Linked DNA regions of Homo sapiens: all the other regions are linked to region 6. Evidence: promoter capture Hi-C in human tissues and cell types (Jung and others, 2019). All regions are on one chromosome and are shown on one strand. Each heading gives the region's core, a stretch centred on a gene start or on the middle of the fragment in contact. The rest is flanking DNA. Distances are from core to core; before and after follow the strand shown.

Region 1 (3,490 bases), core at 535-3,034, 280 kb after region 6:
TTGTTTAAGAAAAGGTTACATCAGCTGGCCAGGCGTGGTAGCTCATGCCTGTAATCCCAGCACTTGAAAGCCTAGGCGGGCGGAACACATGAGGTCAGGAGTTCGAGACCAACCTGGCCAACGTGGTAAAACTCTGTCTCTACAAAAAATACAAAAATTAGCTGGGGGCACCTGTAATCCCAGCTACTCGGAAAGCTGAGGCAGGAGAATCACTTGAACCCAGGAGGTGGAGGTTGCAGTGAGCTGAGATAGTGCCACTGCACTCTAGCCTGGGCTGGAAGGAAGAATTTGTTAAGGAGCGACAAGAGCAAAACTCCGTCTCAAAATAAATAAATAAATAAATATAAACAAATAATGTTGTTACGAACATTCTTGTACAGCTTTATTTTTTTTTTTTTGAGACGGAGTCTCGCTCTGTCACCCAGGCTGGAGTGCAGTGGCGCGATCTTGGCTCACTGCAAACTCCGCCTCCCAGGTTCACGCCATTCTCCCACCTCAGCCTCTCCAGTAGCTGGGATTACAGGCGTCCGCCACCATGCCCGGCTAATTTTGTTTTTGTATTTTTAGTAGAGATGGGGTTTCACCATGTTAGCCAGGACGGTCTCGATCTCCTGACCTCGTGATCCGCCCACCGTGGCCTCCCAAAGTGCTGGTATTACAAGCGTGAACCAATGCTCCTGGCCTGTTTTTTTTTGTTTTTTTTTTTTAAGAGACAGGATCTTGCTATGTTGCCCAGGCTGGTCTTGAACCCCTGGGCTCAAGTGATTCTCCCACCTCACCCTCTCAAGTAGCTGGGATTACAGGCATGAGGCATTGCACTCAGCTTCTTGTACAGCTTTCTTGTGTGTATATCCAGGAGTGGACTTTGCTGGGTCATAGGGTATGTGTATTTTCAGCTTTAGTGATTATATTTATATATATATATATATATATACATATGTATATATATACATATGTATATATATGTGTATATATATATATGTATATATGTGTATATATATATGTGTATATATATATGTATATATATTTTTTTTCCTTTTTTTTTTTTTTTTTCTTGAGATGGAGCCTCGCTCTGTTGCCCAGGCTGGAGTGCAGTGATGTGGCTCCAGTGGCTCACTGGAGCCTCAAACTCCTGGGCTCAAGTGATCCTCCCACCTCAGCCTCCCTAGTAGCTGGGATTACAGGCATGCACCACCATGCCCAGCTAATCTTTTTTCTTTTTCTTTTTTTCCTTTATTTATTTATTTATTTATTGAGAAGGAGTCTCGCTCTGTCGCCCAGGCTGGAGTGCAGTGGCGCGATCTCGGCTCACTGCAAACTCCGCCTCCCGGGTTCACGCCATTCTCCTGCCTCAGCCTCCCGAGTAGCTGGGACTACAGGCGCTCGCCACCACACCCGGCTAATTTTTTGTATTTTTAGTAGAGACGGGGTTTCACCGTGTTAGCCAGGATGGTCTCCATGTCCTGACCTCGTGATCCGCCCGCCTCGGCCTCCCAAAGTGCTGGGATTACAGGCGTGAGCCACCGCGCCCGGCCCCGGCTCCTGCTCCTCTAAATATTAGAGGCAAGCCTCGAACCGGAGCTCCGGGATGCATGCCAATCTCCGGTTGCGCCTGCGCGTCGGGCTCCCGTGGGGTCCACGCATTTCCTACCCGGCCCCCGCGAACAGGCGTAAAGCTCTTTCTTCAGTGCTCGCTCTAGTGCGCGCGCCCGGACGGCGCCTGCGCAGAGGGCAAGGAACCTGGTACCCCGGTGCGGTCCCGGCGCCTGCGCGCTGCGGACTGTGGGGCTTCTCGGCCCGAGGCAGAGGAACAGGGAAGATGGCGGCTGTGGTGGAGAATGTAGTGAAGCTGTGAGTGGTCGTTTCTTTCTCTCCTAGGGCGGCAGGTTTTGTAAAGGGCCTGGGAGTAGGGGGCGGTGGGGGAAGGGACTAGGCGGAGAGAGGGACATCCCCGGGAAAGCCATGTTGCGACTCCTGGTGGGGAGGGCAACAGGAGACTCCGGAGAAGACGTTGCGCTTCTTTGGAAACTTGTGGAGGCCCTGGTGGGGGCACACTGGAGCCCCGACGGGCGGCATCCCTGCGGGGCTGTGTGGCCTCAGCGTTCCTCGGGGCTGACGGTTTCCAGAGCATGGCGCCCTGCCTGCACGCGAGACTCACCGTCCCGGTCCTCTCCCGAGACGCCTCAGTCCGGAGGAGCGGGGCCGAGGCCCGGGCGGCCCTACGGCTGGCCCGCCGCCCACCCCGCCCCGTCCCGTCCCGTTCGCTGCAGCAACAGGCTCGGCGGCCCCTGCGGAGTGCACTGCGGGGCTGGCTGTTTCAGTTCCAGGCAGCCCCGTGATGTTTGGGAGGATCTTGGGTGGCAGGTACCTAAGACTACAAATATTCTTGGGAAGAATTTATCGAGGAGCGGATCCAGAAGGGAAGGAACTTCAGGGGAGTGGGCCTTGGCCCCGTCCAGTAGCAGCCATCAAAAACCTGCAACTGGACCGAAGCCGTTCAGGACAGCTTAGCCTAAAGGGGCATCTAGGTGGGCATTCTTCCTATTATACGATACCATTGTGCTGGTCAGATTTCAAGCAAAGTTAAAGTTAATAGCTGTTGGGGCCATGGACGCTGGCCTATGAACTGCTTCCTGTGAGTTAAAGATGCTTTGGGACTTGATTTATTCCTACAGAAGAATCAGAATGAGTTTTAGATTGGGTTAATGCATGGTGGGCGAATAGAGCTTCTTTTAATGGGTATGTTGGGCTTGGTGCAAGGGTGGGAAAATTGAGTGGTGTCTAGCTGTCCAGTCAGGGTTTTTGCATTTTGACTGGATGACGAGGTAAAGGTTCGGTAACTCTTCTAAGGGACTCACAGCTTCTCATCTGTCTTTGTCGTGGCCTGAGCCCCACTCTTCCTAAGAGCCTTTTTAAAGAGTAAGTTGCTTCTCCCTCCTGCCTGAAGCCTTTTCTTTGAGAATGCTTTCCCACTTCCATTAAGCTAAGTGCCTTTCCTCCTCTTGTGGTTTGTTTTTTTTTTTTTTAAGTTGCTTTCTGCTCTATCCTGCTGTCTCTTTCAGCCACCCCTCCTCCCAACGCTATTGTCTTTCTCTCTGATCTGCCCACTCCAGTTTCCCCAGCTCTTTCTTCAGGCTGACATTTTTCTCAATTTAGAAATGACACTGTTGATCTACCATTTATCCAGTTATCCTTCCTGACTCAGATGTTCTTTCTTTGTTTCCCTGCGTCTTTGTTGACTTCCCTCATCCCATTGTAAGGGGATGTTTTACACAGGTTTCTCCAAAAATAAAAAGGAAGATTCTCATTGTACTGGGGGAGTATCAGACTTGCCTAGGTTTTGGGAGTTAAACGTAGTGAGGTTCTTCGTGTTGGAAGATTTTCCTCAGAGAAATAGGGTTGCCAGTGCTTTCAAGTTGTGTCATAAGTGAGGGGTTGCCCATTTAAACAGAGCGTGACATCTTGTTTCTCTTTGAAAAACTGTAGAGAT
Region 2 (3,565 bases), core at 711-3,210, 440 kb after region 6:
TGCATTCAAGTTCCATAAGCTGTTAAGAAAAATCTAGAAAAGTAAAACTAGAACCTATTTTTAACCGAAGAACTACTTTTTGCCTCCCTCACAAAGGCGGCGGAAGGTGATCGAATTCCGGTGATGCGAGTTGTTCTCCGTCTATAAATACGCCTCGCCCGAGCTGTGCGGTAGGCATTGAGGCAGCCAGCGCAGGGGCTTCTGCTGAGGGGGCAGGCGGAGCTTGAGGAAACCGCAGATAAGTTTTTTTCTCTTTGAAAGATAGAGATTAATACAACTACTTAAAAAATATAGTCAATAGGTTACTAAGATATTGCTTAGCGTTAAGTTTTTAACGTAATTTTAATAGCTTAAGATTTTAAGAGAAAATATGAAGACTTAGAAGAGTAGCATGAGGAAGGAAAAGATAAAAGGTTTCTAAAACATGACGGAGGTTGAGATGAAGCTTCTTCATGGAGTAAAAAATGTATTTAAAAGAAAATTGAGAGAAAGGACTACAGAGCCCCGAATTAATACCAATAGAAGGGCAATGCTTTTAGATTAAAATGAAGGTGACTTAAACAGCTTAAAGTTTAGTTTAAAAGTTGTAGGTGATTAAAATAATTTGAAGGCGATCTTTTAAAAAGAGATTAAACCGAAGGTGATTAAAAGACCTTGAAATCCATGACGCAGGGAGAATTGCGTCATTTAAAGCCTAGTTAACGCATTTACTAAACGCAGACGAAAATGGAAAGATTAATTGGGAGTGGTAGGATGAAACAATTTGGAGAAGATAGAAGTTTGAAGTGGAAAACTGGAAGACAGAAGTACGGGAAGGCGAAGAAAAGAATAGAGAAGATAGGGAAATTAGAAGATAAAAACATACTTTTAGAAGAAAAAAGATAAATTTAAACCTGAAAAGTAGGAAGCAGAAGAAAAAAGACAAGCTAGGAAACAAAAAGCTAAGGGCAAAATGTACAAACTTAGAAGAAAATTGGAAGATAGAAACAAGATAGAAAATGAAAATATTGTCAAGAGTTTCAGATAGAAAATGAAAAACAAGCTAAGACAAGTATTGGAGAAGTATAGAAGATAGAAAAATATAAAGCCAAAAATTGGATAAAATAGCACTGAAAAAATGAGGAAATTATTGGTAACCAATTTATTTTAAAAGCCCATCAATTTAATTTCTGGTGGTGCAGAAGTTAGAAGGTAAAGCTTGAGAAGATGAGGGTGTTTACGTAGACCAGAACCAATTTAGAAGAATACTTGAAGCTAGAAGGGGAAGTTGGTTAAAAATCACATCAAAAAGCTACTAAAAGGACTGGTGTAATTTAAAAAAAACTAAGGCAGAAGGCTTTTGGAAGAGTTAGAAGAATTTGGAAGGCCTTAAATATAGTAGCTTAGTTTGAAAAATGTGAAGGACTTTCGTAACGGAAGTAATTCAAGATCAAGAGTAATTACCAACTTAATGTTTTTGCATTGGACTTTGAGTTAAGATTATTTTTTAAATCCTGAGGACTAGCATTAATTGACAGCTGACCCAGGTGCTACACAGAAGTGGATTCAGTGAATCTAGGAAGACAGCAGCAGACAGGATTCCAGGAACCAGTGTTTGATGAAGCTAGGACTGAGGAGCAAGCGAGCAAGCAGCAGTTCGTGGTGAAGATAGGAAAAGAGTCCAGGAGCCAGTGCGATTTGGTGAAGGAAGCTAGGAAGAAGGAAGGAGCGCTAACGATTTGGTGGTGAAGCTAGGAAAAAGGATTCCAGGAAGGAGCGAGTGCAATTTGGTGATGAAGGTAGCAGGCGGCTTGGCTTGGCAACCACACGGAGGAGGCGAGCAGGCGTTGTGCGTAGAGGATCCTAGACCAGCATGCCAGTGTGCCAAGGCCACAGGGAAAGCGAGTGGTTGGTAAAAATCCGTGAGGTCGGCAATATGTTGTTTTTCTGGAACTTACTTATGGTAACCTTTTATTTATTTTCTAATATAATGGGGGAGTTTCGTACTGAGGTGTAAAGGGATTTATATGGGGACGTAGGCCGATTTCCGGGTGTTGTAGGTTTCTCTTTTTCAGGCTTATACTCATGAATCTTGTCTGAAGCTTTTGAGGGCAGACTGCCAAGTCCTGGAGAAATAGTAGATGGCAAGTTTGTGGGTTTTTTTTTTTTACACGAATTTGAGGAAAACCAAATGAATTTGATAGCCAAATTGAGACAATTTCAGCAAATCTGTAAGCAGTTTGTATGTTTAGTTGGGGTAATGAAGTATTTCAGTTTTGTGAATAGATGACCTGTTTTTACTTCCTCACCCTGAATTCGTTTTGTAAATGTAGAGTTTGGATGTGTAACTGAGGCGGGGGGGAGTTTTCAGTATTTTTTTTTGTGGGGGTGGGGGCAAAATATGTTTTCAGTTCTTTTTCCCTTAGGTCTGTCTAGAATCCTAAAGGCAAATGACTCAAGGTGTAACAGAAAACAAGAAAATCCAATATCAGGATAATCAGACCACCACAGGTTTACAGTTTATAGAAACTAGAGCAGTTCTCACGTTGAGGTCTGTGGAAGAGATGTCCATTGGAGAAATGGCTGGTAGTTACTCTTTTTTCCCCCCACCCCCTTAATCAGACTTTAAAAGTGCTTAACCCCTTAAACTTGTTATTTTTTACTTGAAGCATTTTGGGATGGTCTTAACAGGGAAGAGAGAGGGTGGGGGAGAAAATGTTTTTTTCTAAGATTTTCCACAGATGCTATAGTACTATTGACAAACTGGGTTAGAGAAGGAGTGTACCGCTGTGCTGTTGGCACGAACACCTTCAGGGACTGGAGCTGCTTTTATCCTTGGAAGAGTATTCCCAGTTGAAGCTGAAAAGTACAGCACAGTGCAGCTTTGGTTCATATTCAGTCATCTCAGGAGAACTTCAGAAGAGCTTGAGTAGGCCAAATGTTGAAGTTAAGTTTTCCAATAATGTGACTTCTTAAAAGTTTTATTAAAGGGGAGGGGCAAATATTGGCAATTAGTTGGCAGTGGCCTGTTACGGTTGGGATTGGTGGGGTGGGTTTAGGTAATTGTTTAGTTTATGATTGCAGATAAACTCATGCCAGAGAACTTAAAGTCTTAGAATGGAAAAAGTAAAGAAATATCAACTTCCAAGTTGGCAAGTAACTCCCAATGATTTAGTTTTTTTCCCCCCAGTTTGAATTGGGAAGCTGGGGGAAGTTAAATATGAGCCACTGGGTGTACCAGTGCATTAATTTGGGCAAGGAAAGTGTCATAATTTGATACTGTATCTGTTTTCCTTCAAAGTATAGAGCTTTTGGGGAAGGAAAGTATTGAACTGGGGGTTGGTCTGGCCTACTGGGCTGACATTAACTACAATTATGGGAAATGCAAAAGTTGTTTGGATATGGTAGTGTGTGGTTCTCTTTTGGAATTTTTTTCAGGTGATTTAATAATAATTTAAAACTACTATAGAAACTGCAGAGCAAAGGAAGTGGCTTAATGATCCTGAAGGGATTTCTTCTGATGGTAGCTTTTGTATTATCAAGTAAGATTCTATTTTCAGTTGTGTGTAAGCAAGTTTTTTTTTAG
Region 3 (3,561 bases), core at 1,062-3,561, 470 kb after region 6:
TCCTCCGCCCACACATATGTGGGGGAAAGGAAGCGAGATCAGACTGTTACTGTGTCTATGCAGAAAAAAAGAAGACATAAGAAACTCCGTTTTGATCTGTACTAAGAAAAATTCTTCTGCTTTGAGATGCTGTTAATCTGTAACTTTAGTTCCAACCCTGTGCTCACAGAAACATGCGCTGTATTGAATCAAGGTTTAAGGGATTTAGGGCTGTGCAGGATGTGCCTTGTTAACTATATGTTTGCAAGCAGTATGCTTGGTAAAAGTCATCGCCATTCTCCATTCTCTATTAACCAGGGACATGATGCACTGTGCAAAGCCACAGGGACCTCTGCCCGAGAAAGCCTGGGTATTGTCTCCCCGACTGAGACAGCCTGATATGGCCTTGTGGGAAGGGAAAGACCTTACCATCCCCCAGCCCGACACCCGTAAAGGGTCTGTGCTGAGAATTAGTAAAAGAGGAAGATCTCTTTGCGGTTGAGATAAGAGGAAGGCCTCTGTTTCCCGTATGTCCCTGGGAATGGAATGTCTTGGTGTAAAGCCCACCAGTCATTCTATTCTGAGATAGGAGAAAACTGCCCTATGGCTGGAGGTGAGATATGCTAGCGGTGATACTGCTCTGTTACTCTTTGCTACACTGAGATGTTTGGGTAAAGAGAAACATAAATCCAGCCTACGTGCACATCCGGGCACAGTACCTTCCCTTGAACTTATTTATGATGCAGATTCCTTTACTCACATGTTTTCCTGCTGACCTTCTTCCCACCATCACCCTGTTCTGCCGCAGTCCCCTTGCAGAGATAGTGAAAATAGTAATCAGTAAATACTGAGGGAACTGAGAGACCAGCGCCGGTGCAGGTCCTCGTATACTGAGTGTGCCGGTCCCCTGGGCCCACTGTTCTTTCTCTATACTTTGTGTCTTATTTCTTTTCTCAGTCTCTTGTCTCCACCTGACGAGAAATACCCACAGGTGTGGAGGGGCAGGCCCCCTTCAAACATGTTGGTCAGGCTGACCTGGAACTCCTGACCTCAGGTGATCCTCCAGCCTCGGCCTCCCAAAGTGCTGAGATTACAAGCGTGAACCACTGTGCCTGGCCCTCACCCCAGTTTATAGATGGGGGACCTAACGCACCCAAAGGGAACTGTGTGAGTTCTCACATCCAATGAGGGGCTGAACCGTGATTGAAACCCAGCACCGTCTCACTGTGGCATCTCTGCCCTTGAGTTATCTCCCAAAGGCATCCCAACCAGACTTTTCATAACCAGTCCCAGAATCTCACCAGTGCTCCATAGCTGTGGTTGAGGCACTGTCCCCAAGCCTGGGTCCTGAGACCCTACCAGCAGAAGAACCACTGCCTGTCCAGCCCCTCCTACACAGCTCAGGGGCTGGATCCCCACCAGTGTGATGTGCTGATTGAGCTAACACCACTCCATGGCTGTCTACACAGGCACTGAGAGATGCAATCCGTTGGCTTGAGAGCCGGGCAGCTGAGCCCAGGAGAGCAGGGTCCCCTCCCAGCCCTTTGGCCTCTTCCAGACCTGCCCAGTTGCTCCTTCTCCCTCCCTCCTTTCCTGGGGTCACTTCTTCTTCCCTCCTCAGTCTCTCCTTCCTCCATTCCCTGGGTGCCCGCCCCTGCCCCGGGGTTCTGGACCTCCTTGGAACCTTGGATTCACTCTCTGCCTCTCACCCACGCTCTTTCTCTGGGGCGTCTCCTCGTGCTTCTCTCATGGTCACTTCACCAGGACCGACTCCTCCCCGGAGCCTGGAGGCACCCACTTGCTGGTGGGAGAGAGTGTCTGGCGTGGGGCCAGTCTCCCTCTCTGGGTCTCTGCCTCACTCCTCACTGCACCCTCTCATGCCTGTCAGTCTTTCTACCTCTCCCCCTTTTTGCCTCGGTTTCCCCATCCCTCTGTCCCTTCTTAAGCTCTCATCCTTACAGTACGCTAGAAGGCAGGCTCTATTATCCTTTAGGATTTAGGCCTCTTTAGATAAAAGGGCTCACAGGCTTGGAGGGTTTTAAGTGACTTACCCGGCGGCGGAGTACTGATCTTAGTACCGCCCGCCGCCCCGGACTGCCCCGCCCCTCCCTAGCCCCCCCATCCCCGCCCCTCCCTAGCCCCCCCATCCCCGCCCCTCCCTAGCCCCCCCATCCCCGCCCCTCTCCCGCCCCTCCCTTGTCCCCGCCCCTTCCCGCCCCAACTCAGGTTCTGCCCCACCCCGCCCCAATTCACGTCCTGCTCCGCCCCGACGTAGGCCCCGCCCTGGCCCCCGGGCCCCGCCCCCGTCTGACGCAGGCCCCGCCCCCTCTCCGCCCCGCCCCGGCTCGGGCGGCCGGAGGACCCGGAGCTAAGGCGCCCGAACCCGCGGCGGCGGTGGGGACGATGTGGTTCTTTGCCCGGGACCCGGTCCGGGACTTTCCGTTCGAGCTCATCCCGGAGCCCCCAGAGGGCGGCCTGCCCGGGCCCTGGGCCCTGCACCGCGGCCGCAAGAAGGTGAGTGCGGCCGAGCTCCGTAGGCCGCGGTCGACCTGGGCCTTGCCTATTCCGCGCCGCCGACCCCGTCGCGTTGCGCCCGGCCTGACGTGGCGGCGGAACCAAGGGGTAGCAGGCCGGGGAGGGGGCGGGCAGTGCCTACGTGGCGGGCGGAGGGACCGAGGGACCGACAGGCGGACAGGGCCGGGGTCACGTGGGCCCGGCGAAGTGTCCCTAAGGCTGACCTGGGGAGAGACCTGGCTGCGGGCCCTTGTCTTCCGGCCACACAACAGCTCTGGGACCATCTCAGGCCCCGCTGCCCTCCCCTAGGCCACAGGCAGCCCCGTGTCCATCTTCGTCTATGATGTGAAGCCTGGCGCGGAAGAGCAGACCCAGGTGGCCAAAGCTGCCTTCAAGCGCTTCAAAACTCTACGGCACCCCAACATCCTGGCTTACATCGATGGACTGGAGGTACCTGCTGCCTTGCCTGCCCGTCTCTGCCCCTCACGATGTCCTGGTTACCCACTCCTGTCTCCCCTCCTGCCCTGTTTCCACCCTATGTGCCCCAGCACCCCCAGATTTGGTTTCCTCTTCCCCATCTCTCCCAACTTCAAGTCGCTTATCTCTCCTTCCTCTCTGCCCCTCCGCCCTTGATAACCCTGTGTCCCCTTCCCCAGACAGAAAAATGCCTCCACGTCGTGACAGAGGCTGTGACCCCGTTGGGAATATACCTCAAGGCGAGAGTGGAGGCTGGTGGCCTGAAGGAGCTGGAGATCTCCTGGGGGCTACACCAGATCGTGGTGAGGTGGGGGGCAGTGGTGATGAGAGCAGGGATGGGGGGTTGCAGGTGCTGGGGCGTGATGGCTCCTTTTGCCCCCAGAAAGCCCTCAGCTTCCTGGTCAACGACTGCAGCCTCATCCACAACAATGTCTGCATGGCCGCCGTGTTCGTGGACCGAGCTGGCGAGTGGAAGCTTGGGGGCCTGGACTACATGTATTCGGCCCAGGGCAACGGTGGGGGACCTCCCCGCAAGGGGATCCCCGAGCTTGAGCAGTATGACCCCCCGGAGTTGGCTGACAGCAGTGGCAG
Region 4 (3,401 bases), core at 859-3,358, 350 kb after region 6:
CCTGTCGCAAAAAAAAAAAAAGAAAAAGAAAAATTTATTAACGTCTTGGCTAGGCTCACACCTGTAATCTCAGTACTTTGGGAGACAGAGGCAGGAGGCTCACCTGAGGCCAGGAGTTCGAGATCAGCCTGGGCAATCGAGCAAGACCCTGTCTCTACACAAACTAAAAAAACCTTAGCCATGGCTCACACCTGTAGTCCCAGCTATTGGGGATGCTGAAGTGGGAGGATCACCTAGGCTTAGGAGGTAAGGCTGCAGTGAGCCGTGATTGTAACACTGCACTCCAGCCTGAGCAACACAGCTTGTCTCAAAAAAAAAACCACAAAGGCGGGACATGGTGGCTCACACCTGTAATCCCAGCACTTTGGGAGGTCAAGGCAGGTGGATCACGAAGTCAGGAGTTTGAGACTAGCCTGGCCAACGTGGTGAAACCTGTCTCTACCAAAAATACAAAAATTAGCCAGGCACAGTGGCCCACGCCTGTAATCCCAGCACTTTTGGAGGCCAAGATGGGTGGATCATGAGGTCAAGAGATCGAGACCATCCTGGCCAGCATGGTGAAACCCCGTCTCTACTAAAAATACAAAAATTAGTGTGCGTGGTGGCGCACACCTGTAGTCCCAGCTACTCAGGAGGCTGAGGCAGGAGAATTGCTTGAACCCAGGAGGTGGAGGTTGCAGTGAGCCAAGATCGTGCCATTGCACTGCGGCCTGGGTGACAGAGCAAGACTCCATCTCAAAACAAAACAAAAGGCCGGGCGCAGTGGCTCACGCCTGTAATCCCAGCACTTTGGGAGGCCGAGGCAGGCAGATCACGAGGTCAGGAGATCGAGACCATCTTGGCTAACACGGTGAAACCCCGTCTCTACTAAAAATACAAAAAATTAGCTGGGCGCCGTGGCGGGCGCCTGTAGTCCCAGCTTCTCAGGAGGCTGAGGTAGGAGAATGGTGTGAACCTGGGAGGCAGAGCTTGCAGTGAGCCGAGATAGTGCCACTGCACTCCAGCCTGGGCGACAGAGCGAGACTCCGTCTCAAAACAAACAAAAAAAAACAAACCCAAAAAAAACCAAAAACTAACATCTTACAGCAATATGGTACTTTTGTTTTAATTAATGACCCGGTATTGCCATTATTAGCCAAAGTGCCTACCTTAGTCAGATTTCCATAGTGTTTTCCAGACATCCCTCTGTGCCAGGATCCCACCAGGACCCCACACTGCATTTAGTTGTCACGTCTCCCCAGGCTTCTCTTGGCTATGAAGGACCCTCCTTGTCTGTGATGACCTTAGGTCGGCAGTGTTAGGGAGCGCTGCTTGGGGTATACTGTAGCATGCTGAGCGGGGCTGAGGCTCGGATGAGGGGAGCTCAGTCTGACCAGGCTCTGGAAGGAGCCGTCGCGCTGGAGCCAGAACCTGGCTTCCTGGGCCTGAGCCCCCTCACACAGGGACAGCGCCTCTGCTCAGTGTGCCCTCCCATTCCCTCGCAGGCAAGGGGATCAGGCGAGTGAAGCCGAAGCGCACCACATCCTTCTTCAGCCGGCAGCTGTCCTTGGGCCAGGGGAGCTACACCGTGGTGCAGCCCGGCGACAGCCTGGAGCAGGGCTGAGGACGCTGCACCCGGCAGGAGGAGGGCGACTGGGGGCCCTGGCCCGGCACTGTCCTCCTGAGGGGCAGGCGCCGGCTGCAACAGTCTCATGGGTCACCACGTGGGGAGGGCTGCCTCAGCAGGTTTCTCAGACCACGGAGAAGTGACTTTTGGGCCCGGGGCCATGCCCGGGCTGTGCAAAGCTGGCCAGGGCCTCCTGTAGGGCTCCTCTGCAGCCTGCCCTCCCTTCCCCCGGATGCTGGGCCCTGCTGCTCTCTCAGGACCATCCGATCAAGCTGCAGCTGCCACCCTCACCTAGAAACATGCCTTTGTGCCCACCTCAAGATGGGCAGTGTCCCTGTTCTGAAGTGCCCAGTGGCAGCTCCAGTGGTAGAGGACCAAGGATTGAGGTTTGGGACCTGAAGCTCCAGTGTGTGCCTTTGGCCTCTTCCCTGGACTTGGGTGACCAGTCTCCGTCTTCCTCCTGCTAGTGCTCCACCCCCCGGACTTGGATGACCAGTTTCCCACCTTCCTCCTGCTGGTGCTCCATCCCCCAATACCAGGCTGGGCCACCACTCTGAGGAGGGTAGGAGGGGCCTCCCTGGATTGAACCGGGACAGAAACACGGTGAGGGCCCCCACCACACCTCCCTGGTTGAATCAGGAATGGAGGGAGCCAGGCAGGGCCCTACCTGGGGTCCTGTGCCCCTCGTTCTGGTCTCCTTTGCAGGCACGAGATACCAGAAAGAGCATGCCTTTCTGATAGCCTTTGGTGATGTCACTGCTGGGAGGTGGCTATCCTGTGGACCACCTGGCCTCCAGACCCACACTCACAGTCTGTGAAAAACTGAAAATCCCCTGGTGGGCACTCCCTGGAGCCCAAGCAGCTCCCCTAGGGGACTGACCGGACCTGACCTCCCCTCCCTGTGTCTGGGTCTTCAGGTTTTAGTTTGGTCTTTGTTCATCTGAGTTGTGCTGGGGCAACGCCAGGAAGTGCCCTGGGTACCTCTGCTGTGCGCTCCTTCCCAGGTGGCGCCATGGATTCCTCTGGGGGCTGGCGCATGCCCAGGAAAGCCTGGGCCACACGGGACACTCTCTTCTTTATCGAGGACACTTGGAAAGGTGACTGATATGGGTGCTTGGCTTCTCTGGTCCCAGCTTGCCCTCCGGGGAGCAGGGGCTCTGTCTTGTCCCAGATGAGCTGAGAGCCCCTGAGAGGAGGGCTTTCCCAGCCCTGGGACCCTCCGAGGTGGGTGTGCGGGTCTCACAGGTGCTTCCTGGGACTTCCTGTGGCTGCACAGGGCTTGGCTTTGTCTTCGTTCCCGGTGGAAAACCGTGGGAGAGGAAGCTTGGGCCTCTACTCCAAGTATCAGAGCCTGTTCACCCTCCTCCCTTTGGTAGCTTGTGAATGTGCCAGGTGTTTCGAGGTAGGCTTGCCTTCTGGCAGCATGGACTTTGTTAAAATAATAGGCGGAAAGAAGAGGCCTGGGAAGGGCCCCCAGTCTTTTGGAATGTCCTGGTCACAGGGTCATGTCAGCTGCCAGTTCTCGTCTCCCGTCCTGGAGTTGCTCGGTCTTGCGGAGCTGCCCGCCTGCCTGTTCTGGCGGCTCCAGCGCAGGCTGTCCCTGCTGCTTTGATTCCAGGTGATTTTATTTTTTTTATTTTTTTATTTTTTTTGAGACGGAGTCTTGCTCTGTTGCCCAGGCAGGAGTGCAGTGGCGCATCTCGGCTCACTGCAACCTCTGTCTCAAGCGATTCTCCTGCCTCAGCCTCCTGAGTAGCTGGGATTACAGGTGCATGCCACCAGGCCCCGCTGATTT
Region 5 (3,317 bases), core at 75-2,574, 320 kb after region 6:
GGTTTCACCATGTTGGCCAGCCTGGTCTCGAAATCTTGACCTCATGATCCACCTACCTCAGCCTCCCAAAGTGCTGGGCTTACAGGCATGAGCCACCGCGCCCAGCCTCTCATTTCTTATAAAGACAGGGTCTTCCTATGTTGCCCAGGCTGGTCTCAAACTCCTGGCCCCAAGTGATCCTCCTACCTCAGCCTCGCAAAGTGCTGGGATTACAGGTGTGAGCCACCATGCCCTGATTCTTTTTTTTTTTTTTTTTTTTTTTTTGTGGCAGGGTCTCATTCTGTCACCCAGGCTGGAGTGCAGTGGTGCAGTCATAGCTCACTGCAGCCTTGAACTCCTGAGCTCAAGCAATCCTCCTAAGTAGCTGGGACTACAGGTGTGAGCCACCATGCCCAGCTAATTATTTTGATTTTTTTGTAGAGACAGGGGCCTCCCTATGTTGCCCAGACTGGTCTCAAACTCCTGGGCTCAAGTGATCCTCCCGCCAGGCCGGAACTCAGACTTTGGTCTCTGCTCCTCCCATGTCACCCATCTTCCCGAGGAAGTGACCTACCATTGGGTGTGATGTGACAGAAGGAAGAAAAATGTCTCACCAGAGATCCAGCCAGCCACAAATTCCTCCACCGGCATTGTCTGGGCTTGCGGGAACTGGTGGCTCCAGCAGAGGAGACAGAGTTGAATTCCCCCCTCTCCCTCCCCTGGCCCACGCTGATAACCTCCCACTAATGTTTAACCCTGGCGGGAAGGTGAGAATTGGCCTGGTGCCCAGACCTCCGGCAACTGGCAGAGGAGAGCGAGCCAGTTCCGGTGACCCTGGCCACCTGGAGGAGTCGTGCAGAGTACAGTCTCACGGGCCAGGCGTGCCGGGACCACAGAGGCCCTGATCCCCGAGCCCGGCCAATGATCCTCGCTCTGAGGATGGCAACTGGGTTCCTGCCCCATGGTCGGGCCCCTCCAGGGCTGCCTTAGTCAGCAAGAGGCAAGCCCCTGCCTGCCCAGCCAGCCCAGCTCCACTCCCATTCATCTCCACCAAGGGGCATGGCCGCCCCCATGCCACAGAGAGAGGCCGGGTGCGGAGGTAGCGTGGCCACCAGGGGGTAGGCCCAGCCCGCATTTGCCGCTGCGTGGCAGGGTGGGGAGGAGCCACTCCCAGGAGTGACTCACCAGGCCTGGCTGTTCTCTTCAGGGTTGTTTACGACTCCCCCGACTCCCCCGTGTGAGTCAGAAACACAGCCTTCCTCGGCTTCCTCCTTCCCAGGGGAAAGATAGGGGTTTTGATTATTTAAAGTGCGTGTTGATCTGCAATGGCACCATTCTGCTCAGTCAAAACCAAAACCCTTTCAAGGATCTGTGAGCCACAGGGTGCCGCCCATTCTCCTCTGACCTCACGTCCTGCCACCCACCCCCTTGCTTTCTCTGCTGCAGCCACCCGAGCCTCCAGACTCTTCTTCAGTCAGCCTTCTGTCTCCAGGCCTGTGGACTGGCTCTTCCCTCTTCCTGGGCACTCTTGCCCTGGCACCCCTCCAGCTGGGGCTCAAATGTCACCACCTGGGTGAGGTCTGCCCCGCCTCCCCAGCCGGAGGCACTGCTGGCTCTTCCTCTCTTTCTCCATCACAGTTATCACGCCAACATACGATGGGAAGAACTTGTCTGTCTGGACAGGGATCTCTGGGTGTTCTGTGCACAGCGGGTGGCACAGGGTGGGCTCTCAATAAATCCTGAGTGACTGAATGAACGGAAATGTCAGCCAGCAGCATCAGCGGCAGCCTGGGGCTCCAGTTCCCTCTTCCCATCACCAAACGGCCCTGGGAAACATCAAGGCCCAGTGACACCTGCACCCTCCCCTCCAGATCTCCCCGCAGCTCCTAGTCTCCCATGGGGGACGCCCAAGGCCCAGTCCTTCTCTCCCTTCTCCTCTCACTGTGGCCAAGGCAGAACCCACCCACCCCTGCTGCTTTCTCCCGGGTGGACAGATTCGGGAAACAGGACCTCCTACCTCCTGCCTCTGGAGCTGCCTGGGGCTCCTTGGGCCACCCCCAAAGATCATCCTAAAAGACCATCCCCAAAGACTGGCCTCTCGTGGTGGCTTGGGCTGCAGTCCTGGTTCTGCTTCTTATTCCTGAAACTGCCTTTGCAAAAACTATAACTGATACAGGCCAGGCGCAGTGGCTCACGCCTGTAATCCCAGCACTTTGGGAGGCCGAGGCGGAAGGACCACCTGAGGTCAGGAGTTCGAGACCAGCCTGACCAACATAGTGAAACCCCATCTCTACCAAAAATACAAAAATTAGCCGGGTGTGATGACGGGCGCCTGTAGTCCCAGCTACTTGGGATGCTGAGGCAGGAGAATCGCTTGAACCCGAGAGGCAGCTGTTGCAGTGAGCCAAGATCATGCCACTATACTCCAGCCTGGGCAACAGAGCGAGACTCCGTCTCAAAAAAAAAAAACAAACAAACAAACAAAAAAAAAACCCTCCTGTCTCTCGTACAGCCAGCTCTGCATGAATTAAACTCTCCTTATTGCAATTCCCCTGTCTTGACAAATTGGCTCTGTCTAGGCAGAGGGTAAGGTGAACCCAATGGGCGGTTACATTATCTCTCTCAGTGATGTTGAGCAACCTCTTCTGTGGGCCTTGGGGTCTATTATTGTTTGCCAAAGTAGGACAGCAGTCGGGCTAATTGATGTCTAAGCCTCTCAGCTCTAAAGGCTGGAGGCCGCCTCCTCCCTCACTTCAGAATGGGTCTCATTCTCTTTTCCAATCTCACCGCCTCACCCCAGTTTGAGAAAGACCCTCATTCCCACTTCCCTACAGCCTTGCTGAAGGGAAGCCCACCTAAGCATGGCGTCATCTTGTGAATCTCTAGCTCACAACCTCCAAAATGTTCTTACTGTCTAACACGCCTGCCCCATATCTGTCATCCTGGGGTTCAAGGCCTCCCCCATGGTGCCACCCACCTGCTATGCTCTCACACAGCGGGGGTCTTTCCTGGGGTCCTAACCATGCTCGTGCAGTTCCCACTACCTGGAATGCCTTTCCTTCCCCACCATCAGCCTCCCGGACTCTCTCCCAGTGCCCCTCCTTGACTAGACCCGGGTTCTAGCCTCCCCACCACCACCGCAGACACTCCCAGGTGTCAGTCTTTGACATAAAACAGAGATGTGATACTCACCTCTTAGTGAGTTCTAAGGATTAAAGCACTTTAAAAAGTGGCTGGCACGTAAATGGCAACTGCTAATACTTATTTCCACTCTCAGGACGCATGAGAATGACACAGGAAACAGGGGAAAGGGCCTGGCCCAGTGCCCCACACACAGC
Region 6 (3,581 bases), core at 647-3,146:
TTGGCCCCGCAAAGTGCTAGGATTACAAGCGTGAGCCACCACGCCCATGCCCAGCCTTTTTTTTTTTTTTTTTTTTTTTAAATCAGAGTCTCGATGTCTCCCAGGCTGGAGAGTGCAGTGGTGCAATCTCAGCTCACTACCATCTCTGCCTCCCAGGTTCAAGCAGTTCATCTGCCTGAGCCTCCCCAGTAGCTGGGATTACAGGCATGCACCACCATGTGTGGCTAATTTTGTATTTTGAGTAGAGATGGAGTTTCACCATGTTGGCCAGGCTGGCCTTGATCTCCTGACCTCAGGTGATCTGCCCACTTCGGCCTCCCAAAGTGCTGGGATTATAGGCGTGAGCCACAGCGCCCGGCCCCTAGTCAGAATTTTTGATGGAAAAGAAATGGCAGGGAGAGGGCCAACAGGAGGGACTTAAGTTGAATATTCAAAACTATTTCACAGGAGGACTTAGACTTCTGGAATACCAAACCTGAAAATTGTACTCAACCCCTTTATTTCCTACAGCTCAGAGAGGGTCAGGGAGGCATCCGAGGCCACACAGCCCATTGGTGGGACAACCCGAAAACACCTTGCCTTTCCTGCCCCACCCTGGGGCTTGGTTCCCCACTCAACACTGCCTCTTCTCCTTCCCCTTCCCCTCACTTCCTCCAGTCCACTGCCCAGCCCCTTCCTCACCGAGGCCTCCTGCACTGGGGGACTGCCACTCACCTTGGCCCCACGCCCTACACCCCCATATCGAGTCAGGGCAATGGTGCCTTCAAGTTTGATGCCCTGAGTCTGTAGCTCCTTAAAGTCTTCTTCCGCGCCCCGGTTGGCATAGACGAGGAGGCCCTAGTCCCAAGAGGGGGTGATCCTTAGAGCTGGGCCCAGCGAAGTGTGGGTGGGGAAGGGGGGTGGAAGTTTGCATGGCAGGAGGGAGAATTTAGATTCTGTTCCCCCACCTCACCCAGAGCTTGTAAGCTCCCCAAGAACAGTCACCCCTCATTTCCTCCATGTCTGGGTGCCCTGTAACAGACCTGGCCTTGAGCAGAGCCACTAGTGTTTGTTGAATGACTGATGGAGGAAAGGAGCAGCGATGGAGTGTCCCGGTGAGTAAATTCCGGAGGGCGCGCTGTGCCCCAGTTGAGGCACGTTCCCTGGGTCAGGGTGGGGAGAACCCTGGGTGGAACCAAGGGAGCTGGGCCAGAGCAGTAGGGGGGGTTCTGGGCCCACCTGTGGGGTTCCAGAAGGAGCATAGGCAGCATAGGGTTGTACCACATCTGGCCCCCCTTGCTCCCCGGTCACGTTCTCCTCAGTCCGGTGGCAGGAGTGGATGATGCCCCCAGTGGGGCCCACTGTTGGAGGGGTGGCAGTATCATGGCTGGGCCCAGCAGCTCCCCACCCCCGGGCATTCCCAAGACTGGGCAGGACCTCACCGATGTCCACGACGTTGGGCTGCTCCTGGCTAGGGAAGGACAGCAGCACTTCGTACGTGGAGGCCTCGGCCGAGTCCAGGCCTGACTCTGGGTCCTTCCAGCGCTGCAGCAGCAGCTGCACCAGGTCCTCATCCCGAGGGCTGGAGGCCAGGTGTGGCTCCCTGGAGAGTTCTCTGCAGGGTGGGCAGAGGGAGGGGCAGGGCCAGCATCAGGGAGGGGGCCTCTGGCAAACGGAGGAGCAGATGGCCCCACTTCTCACCTGAGGTTCTCCCGGATCCTGTGGGCATCCAGCTGCCCCATGACGGTCTCCAGGATCTCCAGGTCCAGGTCCTGGGGGGCCAGTGAGTTGGCTTTTTTGGGGATGGCAAAGTGGCCGAGGATGATCCCCAGCCCCAAGAGGGCAGCAGCCCCCAGCCCCAGCCCCAACACCTTCGTCCACTGCATCCTGCGGACTCTTGGCCAGCTGGGGTAGGACTGGTCTATAGGTTATTCCCTATAGAGGGGGTGTTGTGCCTGGTTAAACATTACCCCATGGGTGGCACTGCCCTTTGACCCCCAGCTGGCAGGGAGAGTGAGGGAACATCCCGCAGTGAGAGCCAGGAGCCATCCACATCCACCACATCCTGCACCATTTGCCTGGAATGGCTCTCCAAGGGCAGCAAGGTCACCCAGGGACACTGAAGCCGAGAGGGAAGGGGCTCATCCAGGGTGTCCCAGGAAAACAGAGGCCAAGCCAGGGCTGGAACTCAGAGCTCCTGTGTTCACAGCAGGGCCGTGCCCACTGCCCACCCTCACTGCCTCTGCCTCCCTCCAAGGCAGCCGATCTACAGCATACCCAGCCCTACCTGCCTGAGCAGATTTTGAGTTGAGATCCCCCTTCTTGCTGGACGTAAGCTGTGTGACCTTGGGCAATCCACTCAGCTTCTCTACACCTGTTTTCTTTTTTTTTTTTCTAGACTGTGTCTTCCACTGACACCCAGGCTGGAGTCCAGTGGTGTGATCTCGGCTCACTGCAACCTCCACCTCCCGGGCTCAAGTGATTCTCCTGCATCGGCCTCCCGAGTAGCTGGGATTACGGGTGTGCACCACCATGTCCAGCTAATTTTTGTATTTTTAGTAGAGATGGGGTTTCACCATGTTGGCCAGGCTGGTCTCAAACTCCTGATCTCAGGTGATCACCCGCCTCAGCCTCCCAAAGTGCTGGGATGACAGGAGTGAGCCACCGTGCCGGCTATGGTGTCATTTTCATTAAACAATATGGCATCTGTAGAAATAGCTAGTGCAGTGTCTGACATGTAGTGGGAGCTCATCAATTTTAACTACTCATCCCTCATCTGACTCTGGAAAATGTAAGGCCTAGAGCTAAAGGAAGAAGGAGGACCCAGAAGAACTCTCTGTGTCTATCCTGAAGGGAGCCCAGCGATACGAGGAATGGGAGTCCTGGGAAGGGAGGCTGTCCCAGAGGAGGCAGCAGGGGAAGCCCATGCCTCCCTGGCGAGGTGACTTCCTCTTCTATCCCCTGGCTCTGCCTGGACTCCGTCATCCACCCTCCTATTTATCCATCCACCCATCCCTCCATTCACTTATTCATTCCTTCCTTTATACATGCAAGCACTGTTCATTCTGTGCTATACTAGAGCCATGCAAGGCTGTGGGGAAGCAAAATCCAGCAGGCGAGGCAGACAGGCTTTAGGTTCAGCCATGTGGTAAGTGCCCTGTAGAGGGAGGATCACCATGCTCCCAGTGAAAGAGTGAGGAGTTCTGACTAGGAGGGAACATCTGAGGGGGTCCTCCAAGGCTGAAAAGGTGTTCCAGCATTTGCAAGGGCTGAGAGGGAAGTGAGACCCCAAGTATGCCATACACATACTGAGCCTCTTCCAGACCTCACGGAGAGCCAGGAGGGGCTGGGGGGGTCCCTAGGGACTTGAGCTGGGACTTCTCCCACCCTCCCATGGCCTATCCTGCCTTGACTCTGCCTCGCAGGTTGCAGCCCATGGATGGGCTCAAAGATGCCTGCAGAGCTTGGGGGCTGGATCAGGGCAGAGCGTGTGTGTGTGTGTGTGTGTGTGTGCACGTGCATGTGTGTGTGTGTGATTTCACAGACCCCTCTCAGAGCAGCCTCCTTCCTGCTCACAACCCCATTTTGCTGGCACCACCATC
Region 7 (3,267 bases), core at 247-2,746, 290 kb before region 6:
TCTCACAGGCTCTAAAGGAATTCTATATCCTATAGACCAGCAGTTACTCACCTGGGCCCGATGAGCAGCCCCACAAAGTTGATTTCTGGGTACTCATCTTGTGGAATCATGACTTTATCACTCACACGTGTTGCTGGAGGTCTAAGAAAGAAAAGCCTGTGTCACCGCACATTTCTGGAGAATGACACAGCCAGCGGCTTTTCTAAAACCAAATATTGGTACCAAGTGCTAATTATGGGTGACTTGAGGCAAGAGGTGAGTAGTACCAATACTGTCCCATCCCAGCAGGTCACCCATGATCTGCATGTGTCTTCATCCCAGATGACCGAGCCCCTCCGCTTACTTGTAATCTGCAGGTGGCTTGAAATCCGGATTGAGTGCAACCATCTCTGTGATGAGGTTGTGCCGCTCCTCTTCCAGCTTTTTGCGGGTGCGGAACTCTCGGGTGTTAAGCCGCTTCCCCTCGCTATTGTAGATGGGCTCAGGGGAAGGGGACCTGTGGGAAACAGACTCCCGTTTACTATTCTGCACCGACTTCTCTCATTCCCACACGGACTATAACAAGTCTTTCCCAGCCCCTCTGCCTCTCAGACCCTAATACAACACTCTTCGGAGGAACCGACCATAACGTGTGCTACTCAAGATCGTGTGGAATGGGGAGATGGAAGCTGGCTTAACGTTAGGGGTCTGGGGTGTGTGTGAGAAAGGAAAAAAATAAAAGATTTTGCATCTAGAAGTGATGAGAGGAAAAAATGTCTATTCTTTGGGGAAAATCTTTGGACTGTAAGTGGCAAGGACAGTATCATCCCCTGGAGTCTTCTTGCCAAATACGGATTTTCTTCCATTTGAAAAAAAATACATATCCCAACTTTATGAACCACAGAAACCCCAAGTTTAGGCAAAAGGTTAACTCTTGGAGAGCTCATGCCCTATGAGGAAAAGCTTCTGTACCCCTAACACATAGTATGTATGAGCTCTTTAACCCAATGCAACTGGGACTGAAGGCTACTGCAGCTACTTGGCCCCCACAATGGAGAGAGATGGTTCGCTTCGTCTTTGCTTTTCCTTCAATGGCCTGGCTGGCTGTGTCCAAGGCCCAGGAGACAACCTGTTTTCTGGCTGTTCGAGGTTGGGGAGTCTGGGTAGAGAAAAACGTTAAAGTGCTAAAGCAGCTTCTGCGAGAGGCTGCAAATGCAGATTTGGTCATACTTGTCTAGGGTCTGAACCTGCAAACAGCAAGGGGAAAACCTATGATTCTCCACCAGAGTTTACAAGTCCAGAAAGCAGATTTTCTCTCTCTCATTTTTTTAAGGAGTAAAATGCTGTTGCTACAAGTAAAAAAATGTAATGATAAAATGGTCAGTTTACCACAGCTGGATTTTGCGGTAATAAAAAAGAGAGGTTACACTCCTAGAATTTTGAGTTAAGATTACAAAAAGGACCATAGCTTGATATTCTGAATGAAAATTTAGTAGCAGCTGCAAGAAGGGAAGAGACCATGTGGATCAGGTTATTAAAAAAACATACTGAAAGTAATCAAGACTCCTATACCCTTGGTTTAGTTGAGAGAACCTTGCCTAGTTGGAGAGCAAGGACTGAACTCGGCTGCTCCCACTGTCTTCAGCCTAAAGGGAACCATGTCACACCACGTTACACACACGATGGAATAAAAGGTCAGGTTTGTTCATGGCTAATGACGGCTAAATGACACCTCCGTTTCTAGCATTTGTATAAACTGTTAGCACAATCCATTAAGAGTGAACAAAAGCAAACATACCCCAGCTCATTAGACTACCATCTTATACATTTAAGTCTACAAGAAAAGTTTTAAACATGTTTTTACTGTGCAAGTTAAGCAGCATCAAAATAACAATAAAGTGGCTTAAGTGATATAACACCTTTTTAAGAAATTATCTTAATTAAGAAAACCCATGCATTTCCCTCCAACCTGGGCTCAAAAGCAAAACCAATCAGGCATTAGGGCCTCTTTCAAAACTGAATAGAAGGGAGGAAAAACCCTGCTCTGGTTTTATTTCTAACATGCTTGACATTTCTAATTCCCACCCCACAGCTGTCTAGAATTAAGCATTCTTAGCTAGTTACAAAAACAAGTCTTACCAGCACCCAATTGGCCATGTGAAGGCCTCACAACAGTTTAACCTCCTCCCAAATTGCAGAAGTGAAAGGCAAAAGCTAGTATTCTAGAGGTTAGACTGGCCCGACTTCTTCACCTCCAACAGGCATCGGCTAGATCAACTAAATTCTAATCCCAGTTATCCAGGAAGCAAAGAAGGTTTGTTAAAAATTCAACCTTTGGAGGAATTGACTGGTGACCTGTAGACATATTATTAAAGGGAAAAAGGCCAAAAAGGCACTAAACAGTTGTGGTCTATGACCTACAATGTAAATTTAAAAAAAAAAAAAATCTTCAAAAAGAAACGAAACACAACACAACCCTACAACCAAAATCTATCTATAGGTAAAATATAGCAAATGTAGTAAGTCAAATTAAAGAGTCAATATGGAGAAACAAGGAAGTTAATGTTTCCTGGCAAAGGGCGGAAGAAAGATGCATGAGTGAGTGACTTCTAAAGCCATTACATCATCTTCCTGATTTAATAAGCTATTAACTGGGTAACAAAAACCAAAAACACTACTTTTTAAAGCAAAGTCTTTTCAACTATTCTGTATGTACTAAGAGAAAATTCAGTGAGAGGGAGAGACTTACTGCCCTTCTAATTAAATGACCAATTTTAGCTGTTCAATCAGCTAATAAAATTCCAGTTTAAAAAAGTTCATCTCCCCCACACAATTTATTTTTCTGAGGTGAGAGAAACTGCAAACTGAAATGACATGACCACAGCTGTTTGAGGCCCACGCTCCCTTTAAGGAAAAAAAAAAAGTAATTTAGGGTTGGTTGCATGCCTTCCCAAAATAGGTGAGAATATTCTGGCCCCTCCCAACACCCCCAAGGCAATGGCCAAGGCTGAAAGTTAACTGGCAGTGAAAGAAGTTGGTTAGAAATCTCATCTGATTTTGAAACCATCTCAAAACCATGAGCAGGAAGACTGCAGCAATGAGCTGACCAGAGCTCCTGGCTTGCTCAAGTTCAGTGATGCTCAAAAATATTTTTAGTCCCTGCACTGTGTACCTGTGAGAAAAACTCTATGCCCTGGGCTTTTGGCCAAAGCAGGTACTGAAAAGGCAGGTTAACGGGCCACCTCACTGTCCCCTAAGGGTGGGTAAATCAGGTTAAGATCTACATGC

Evidence for each region. The method cuts DNA at HindIII sites, captures the fragments that hold promoters and counts their contacts. A contact is called where the count stands out against the background at its distance.
Region 1: a contact is called between the fragment with the promoter of DPF2 here and the fragment with the promoter of NAALADL1 in region 6, in 3 of the 25 tissues and cell types used here (adrenal gland, heart left ventricle and pancreas).
Region 2: a fragment that was not itself captured here is called in contact with the fragment with the promoter of NAALADL1 in region 6 in 1 of the 25 tissues and cell types used here (heart left ventricle).
Region 3: the fragment with the promoter of SCYL1 here is called in contact with the fragment with the promoter of NAALADL1 in region 6 in 4 of the 25 tissues and cell types used here (aorta, heart left ventricle, heart right ventricle and 1 more).
Region 4: a contact is called between a fragment that was not itself captured here and the fragment with the promoter of NAALADL1 in region 6, in 1 of the 25 tissues and cell types used here (adrenal gland).
Region 5: a contact is called between the fragment with the promoter of SLC25A45 here and the fragment with the promoter of NAALADL1 in region 6, in 2 of the 25 tissues and cell types used here (aorta and bladder).
Region 7: a fragment that was not itself captured here is called in contact with the fragment with the promoter of NAALADL1 in region 6 in 1 of the 25 tissues and cell types used here (hippocampus).

Annotation. Positions count from the first base shown.
Region 1 is chr11:65,332,068-65,335,557 of GRCh38, forward strand. DPF2 (double PHD fingers 2) reads left to right here and starts at 1,785. Exons shown (of 11, transcript NM_006268.5): 1 at 1,785-1,851. The coding sequence starts at 1,820. RefSeq lists an enhancer at 2,037-2,086 and a silencer at 2,137-2,226. The HindIII fragment of the contact is 14,713 bases long and covers 1-3,490 here.
Region 2 is chr11:65,498,873-65,502,437 of GRCh38, forward strand. MALAT1 (metastasis associated lung adenocarcinoma transcript 1) reads left to right here and starts at 173. Exons shown (of 1, transcript NR_002819.5): 1 at 173-3,565. It also overlaps TALAM1. RefSeq lists enhancers at 1-63, 1,567-1,696. The HindIII fragment of the contact is 4,315 bases long and covers 1-3,565 here.
Region 3 is chr11:65,522,772-65,526,332 of GRCh38, forward strand. It overlaps SCYL1 (SCY1 like pseudokinase 1), which reads left to right and starts at 2,312. Exons shown (of 18, transcript NM_020680.4): 1 at 2,312-2,493; 2 at 2,803-2,943; 3 at 3,150-3,272; 4 at 3,353-3,561. The coding sequence starts at 2,383. RefSeq lists a silencer at 2,160-2,659. The HindIII fragment of the contact is 17,278 bases long and covers 1-3,561 here.
Region 4 is chr11:65,409,758-65,413,158 of GRCh38, forward strand. FRMD8 (FERM domain containing 8) reads left to right here. Exons shown (of 11, transcript NM_031904.5): 11 at 1,485-3,401. The coding sequence ends at 1,603. Among named protein-coding and RNA genes, the nearest start is that of NEAT1, 11 kb to the right of the region's middle. The HindIII fragment of the contact is 9,371 bases long and covers 1-3,401 here.
Region 5 is chr11:65,381,322-65,384,638 of GRCh38, forward strand. It overlaps SLC25A45 (solute carrier family 25 member 45), which reads right to left and starts at 1,325. Exons shown (of 7, transcript NM_182556.4): 1 at 1,165-1,325; 2 at 594-648. The coding sequence starts at 630. It also overlaps a transcript of FRMD8 not described here. RefSeq lists enhancers at 434-962, 511-640, 628-1,827, 771-1,050, 963-1,490 and 4 more and a silencer at 2,457-2,751. The HindIII fragment of the contact is 21,887 bases long and covers 1-3,317 here.
Region 6 is chr11:65,056,657-65,060,237 of GRCh38, forward strand. NAALADL1 (N-acetylated alpha-linked acidic dipeptidase like 1) reads right to left here and starts at 1,897. Exons shown (of 18, transcript NM_005468.3): 1 at 1,681-1,897; 2 at 1,422-1,594; 3 at 1,219-1,340; 4 at 715-837. The coding sequence starts at 1,865. The HindIII fragment of the contact is 22,908 bases long and covers 1-3,581 here.
Region 7 is chr11:64,769,913-64,773,179 of GRCh38, forward strand. It overlaps SF1 (splicing factor 1), which reads right to left. Exons shown (of 13, transcript NM_004630.4): 4 at 344-496; 5 at 52-141. Among named protein-coding and RNA genes, the nearest start is that of SF1, 7.0 kb to the right of the region's middle. RefSeq lists an enhancer at 2,824-2,913. The HindIII fragment of the contact is 3,620 bases long and covers 1-3,267 here.